Regions from separate parts of the Homo sapiens genome. Here region 1 is linked to region 2. Evidence: promoter capture Hi-C in 16 types of primary human blood cells and fetal thymus (Javierre and others, 2016). All regions are on one chromosome and are shown on one strand. The core of a region is centred on a gene start or on the middle of the fragment in contact, and the rest is flanking DNA. Distances in the headings are between cores, read along the strand shown.

Evidence for each region. The method cuts DNA at HindIII sites, captures the fragments that hold promoters and counts their contacts. A CHiCAGO score of 5 or more calls a contact.
Region 1: a contact is called between a fragment that was not itself captured here and the fragment with the promoter of USP16 in region 2, in 4 of 17 cell types (neutrophils, total CD8 T cells, activated CD4 T cells and 1 more). The highest score is 5.7, in neutrophils.

What each region holds. Positions count from the first base shown.
Region 1 is chr21:28,968,987-28,971,747 of GRCh38, reverse strand. LTN1 (listerin E3 ubiquitin protein ligase 1) reads left to right here. Exons shown (of 30, transcript NM_015565.3): 7 at 304-477; 8 at 1,006-1,196; 9 at 2,147-2,282. Among named protein-coding and RNA genes, the nearest start is that of LTN1, 23 kb to the left of the region's middle. The HindIII fragment of the contact is 7,647 bases long and covers 1-2,761 here.
Region 2 is chr21:29,023,008-29,025,920 of GRCh38, reverse strand. It overlaps USP16 (ubiquitin specific peptidase 16), which reads right to left and starts at 1,253. Exons shown (of 18, transcript NM_006447.3): 1 at 1,144-1,253. RefSeq lists an enhancer at 988-1,377. The HindIII fragment of the contact is 4,939 bases long and covers 1-2,913 here.

The DNA of each region.
Region 1 (2,761 bases), core at 140-2,639, 54 kb after region 2:
TTTCTGTTTGTTTGGCTATAATGGAGGCCCCAAATGAAGGCTTCTGCTACTAAAGAGGATTTGTGTTTGCTTCAGTCAAAGAAAGAGAAAGTTGAATTAATTCTTTCAGCCTTCACTTTTGCCTTGGTAATTCCTTATGCCTTTTCAGCCATTTCATACTCTAAGATTTTAAAAAGTATTTTTTCTAGCTATTTTAGTTTTCTTAGTGGGAGGGTTAGTGTGAATAATCTACTATTACCATAAATTAAAAATCTTATCAAGTTTTACTAGGTTTTAATTTAATTCAGCTTTGCATTCTTTTAGATTCGCTCAGCTTATTTTGAGTTAGTCTCTGCATTGTGCCAGCGCATTCCACAGTTGATGAAAGAGGAAGCATCCAAAGTGAGCCCATCAGTTCTACTTAGCATTGATGACAGTGACCCAATTGTCTGCCCAGCTCTCTGGGAAGCTGTACTCTATACACTTACAACTATTGAGGTATGTAAGAGAGGCACATTTAGTACACTGAGGAATGAACCTATGAGATAAGAATATCCAAAACTTACTGGGAAAATGCTTTCTTGGAAATAAAATAATCTAAACTTGGCATAAATCTTAAAGTGACTAAAATGGCATAGAGTTTTTATTTTATTTTGTTTTGCCAGTATTAATTATTCTTTAAACCTTATGTGTCCTAGTGCAGTCACCATAACTGAATTTTATATTTAAGATGAAATATAATTAAGATTGAAATATAATTGTCCCTTTTAGAAAGCAGCTTTTATAGAAATAGAAGTTAAATAATTATTTCTAATCAATACTTTATTGTAAGCATGTCGAATATATGATCATTATATGTAATACATTTATAATTTCAGTTTTAGTTTTTAATGGTGGTGAAAGATTTTAGCTTTTTTTAGGTAAAATACTTGGTTTTTCTTTTTGAGAGCCTATATGTTTTCTCTTTTAATTGAGAAAAGTATGTTTATGATCTCTAATTACTACTATAATCTTTTGTTTGGTTAGGACTGTTGGCTTCATGTAAATGCAAAAAAGAGTGTGTTTCCCAAGCTATCAACTGTGATTCGTGAAGGTGGTCGGGGTCTAGCTACTGTCATATATCCTTACCTTCTGCCATTCATCAGCAAGCTCCCTCAGTCCATCACAAATCCAAAGTTGGATTTCTTCAAAAATTTCCTCACGTCTCTAGTTGCTGGGTAAGTAATTTAAATTTTTGATTTTTAAAACAAAACAGATTTTCTTGTTTTTATACTCATTTTCTTTCTTACTTAAATTTCTCCAAGTTGTTTTACTATTCATTAAATACTTTTAAAGTTTTCAGAGAATTACAATTGATATTTTTTTCTTGAGTACGTTCAAGACTTCAGTGGTAGCACACAGCAGGAAGTTAGATAAATAAGGTAAAGCTCCTTGTTGGAAATAGGTCAACTAGGCTATTTTTCAAATTAGCCATTTTTTTAACAGCAGAATGTGCTAACCAATTGCACCACAGACACATGTAGCCATTTTTTATTTTTTATGTTGATAAATACAAATGCCTAAATGCAGAAAATTAGCCAGTGAAATTTTTAAAACATCAACAACTTTAACTACTATAGATGTTTAAATTCACACTTAAAAAAACTGTTTCAGTACATTTGTTGAACTTAGAAGATACATCATTTTATTAATGATTACAGATTTTTTTTACTACACCATTATCTTTATTTGGTTAATAAGTTATCTCGAATTTGCAGGTGGATTGGTCCATGAATAGAAAATTAATATCTCGGCTAGGCGTGGTGCCTCACAGCTGTAATCCTAGCACAGGCCAAAGTGGGAGGATTGCTTGAGGCCAGGAGTTCAAGACCAGCCTGGTCAAGATAGTAAGACCCTATTTCTAAAAAAAAAGAAGAAAAAGAAAAAGGAAATATTCTCTTATTTTTATTTTTTACTGATACATTTTTTGAAAAACTTTTTCAAAGTTTTTAAGTTCATATTCTCATTGGGCTATATGTATTTTCATTGGTATTTAATTTGTAGTTTAAGAAACTGCTTTAAAAATGTTTCTTCTGTCATGATGCCTTTTTGAGGTCTTTATTTTGATAATTCTGAGTTCTTGTTTCTTCTTCATGAAAGAGTAATCCAGTTATTAATTATTTCTTAGGCTGTCAACAGAGAGAACTAAAACCAGCTCTTTAGAGTCCTCGGCAGTAATATCTGCTTTTTTTGAATGCTTACGTTTTATAATGCAGCAAAACTTAGGTGAGGAAGAGATTGAACAGATGCTCGTCAATGATCAGGTATCTATAATGTAAAAGTCGTCAGTCTCTTTGCATACTGATTATGTAGGATCAAGCTCATTGTGTCTTGTTGCCATTTACAGTAATAAGCCTTCCTTGTAAAAATTTTATTTTTATAATTTACCAATTGAGTGATGTGTATTTCTGACCAGATAAGTAAAAATTCCATACTCTCAGTTGCTAGCATGGTATGATACCTAAGAAACTAATCAGTGTCTGGATGCAAAAATCCCTTTTTTTTTTGAGACAAAGTTTCGCTCTTTGTTGCCCAGGCTGGAGTACAATGACGCAATCTCAGCTCACTGCAACCTCTGCCTCCCGGGTTCAAGCTATTCTCCTGCCTCAGCCTCCCAAGTAGCTGGGATTACAGGCACCCGCCACCACACCCAGCTAATTTTTGTATTTTTAGTAGAGACGGCGTTTCACCATGTTGGCCAGGCTGGTCGAGAACTGCTGACCTCAGGTGATCTACCCGCCTC
Region 2 (2,913 bases), core at 4-2,503:
TATTTCTGTAAGCAGAATCTAAAGTTCTTAGAAAAATAAATGGTTTCAAGCACAGTTTTGGAACTGCCTATAATATCTAGCATAATGTTAGTACATAGCAGGTCCTGAAGAAATACTTCTTGCATTGAAATAGAAAAATAGAATAGTACCTGAGGCATAAAGGATGATTACAAGGTGCAAAGGTAGGTACATAAGAATGAAGCAAACAAGTTCTGGTGAAAAAGAAAAGGGTGAAAAATGAGAAGTCAGAAGTCTGCAGTAGTGAAGACAGCACTAGTAAATCTGGTTTGAGGATTGCAGCAGCTTAGACTCCATAGGAAAACTTGAAAGACGAATTGTTAATTACTGCAGGCAGAGGACAGAGGGGTCACTCCAGTGCTGCGGAAAGAGCCTCAGTAAAGTTCTGACAACTATAAAGGCAACTAATGAGTCATGAGGAGAGCATATTGTGACTTCCATCAGCTATAAAACATCAATAAACTTAATACACTTTTCAAGTAGTGTCATCGGATGAGCATTAACGTCTTAGTGAAATGACTCTTCGCAGGACTCCATACAAAATCTAAATCAAAGATAGTCTTGCCGGTTCTCATATTATTCCAAGTCTCTTCACTCTCTGCCCTCCCAGTCTTCCCCTGCCTACTCGGTTCCATTAAAAATGTAAGCGTGTGGAAAACTTTGTCAGCAGGTGTTAACGTGGCTTTCAAGTTTTGCGTATATCAATCCCCTCCTAGATATAGTCAATTGGATAAGTGACAGATCCTGCTTTTCCTACCAGCCGTATGAACACGGCTGCAAATCCAGCTCCAACCCATAGGGAAGTCCCTGCCACGCGCCACCCACCCATTTGCTCGGCGCCTGCCACACCTTCCCTCTCCTCCCCTTCTAACTGCTCCGATCCCACGGGGGAACCTCTGGGTCCACGGGGTCGAGAAGGCCGCCAGCAGCGGCATCTCATTGGCCAGCTTCTGGAACTGACAGAACATGCAGCCAATGAGATCGCAGTACCGGAAAGTAGCCGGGTTACGTGCTTAAGGAGAGCGGCCTTCAAGAAGAGAACGAAGTTGGGGCGGAAAACAGGAGCTCTCCCAGCGCAGAAAGCCAGGCGAGCGACGACTGCCAGGCAGTGGGACCAGAACTCACCCACGGCGACAGAGCCCATAACTGCATCCCCTCATGGGCCTTTGGGCTGGGCAGCCAGCTCCGTCTTCCTCCTGGTGACGAATTGAGAGCGACGGAGTCGAAGCCAGAGTGACCCCTGGAAAGCAATAACTTCCGGAACGCGGCATTATGGGAAGTGGCTAGGCCACCACCACCCCACCCCCACCTCCCGGGACCATCGGCTCTGACGCTAGTAAATCTGCGCCTGCGTGCGGCTTGCGCCGGATGTTCGGGTTTAGGGGTTTGGTTGTCAATGGGTTTTCTCGTCTCTGACATAACCACGAAGTTATATAAATGCTCCTGAAGTGTGGGCATCCGGTGGTGGTCTGAGCCTTGGAGTTTCCTAGATGGTTACCTTTCTGGAACACATTATATTTGGAGCTAAAAGGGGGAACGCTTAAATTTGTTTCCGTAATTCTGTCCTGTCGACTTCTAAAACTGAGTACCTAAGTTGTCTTGAATTTACCTTCCTGCACCATGTCAGAATAAAAAACGCAGCGAGTGATTTTTTGTTTGTTTGAGACGGAATATCCCTCTGTCGCCCAGGCTGGAGTGCATTCTTCTGCCTCAGCCTCCCGAGTAGCTGGGACTACAGGCGCACGGCACCACGCCCAGCTAAAATTTTTGTATTTTTAGTAGAGACGGGGTTTCACCAATTGGCCAGGCTGGTCTCCAACTCCTGACCTTGTGATGCGCCCGCCTCGGCCTCCCAACGTGCTGGGATTACAGGCGTGAGCCACCGCGCCCGGCCGCGAGAGTGAATTTTTAAAGCAAAACCGAAAGACGGTGTCAGATAAATTGCGGGGGAGGAGGGGATTTTCAAATATTTACTGTCCATTCTTTGAAAATTTGTAAGTGCGAGCCCTGGCGCGGTGGCTCACCCCTGTAATCCCAACACTGGGAGGCCGAGGCGGGTGGATCACGTGAGGTCAGGAGTTCGAGACCAGCCTGGCCAACGTGGTGAAATCCCGTCTCTACTAAAAATACAAAAAATTAGTCGGTCGTGGTGGCGGGCGCCTGTAATCCCAGCTATTCGGGAGGCTAAGGGGGAGAATCGCTTGAAGTCTGGAGGCAGAGGTTGCAATGAGCCAAGATCACTCCATTGCACTCCAGCCTGGGCAACAAGAGCAAAACTCCCTCTCAAAAAGAAAAAAAGAAAATATGTAAGTGCACACTTTGTGCCAAGCCTTTCCTCAAATGAATTAAACATAGGCCTCTCTGCCCTGGAGTCTTAGTTTAGTAGAGAAGATAGTAATCGCTACCGTGGGGGTCGGGGGAGTTGCAGATAGCTATAGAAAAATAGATATGTAAACAGGTAATTCACCATAAAAGAACAATTGGTCATAAAATAAATGTCCATCCTTACTAATCAGATAAAAGGAGTTTAAGATGGTGGCATACTAACCACCAGAGTAACATTTGGTTAAATTTGGGGGAAAACTAGCTCTCTTGCTTTTTACTGCTGAGATAATTTTTGTTTTATTTACTTATTTATTTATTTATTGAGACCGGGTTGCACTCTGTTACCCAGGCTGGAGTGCAGTGGCACGACCTCAGCTCACTGCAACCTCCACCTCCCGATTCTCCCACCTCACCCTCCCCAGTGGCTGGGATTATAGGCACGTGCCACCCCACCACACAGCTAACTTTTGTATTTTTTTGGTAGAGGCAGGGTTTCAGCATATTGGCCAGGCTGGTCTTGAACTCCTGGCCTCAAGTGATCCACCTGCCTCGGCCTCCCAAAATGCTGGA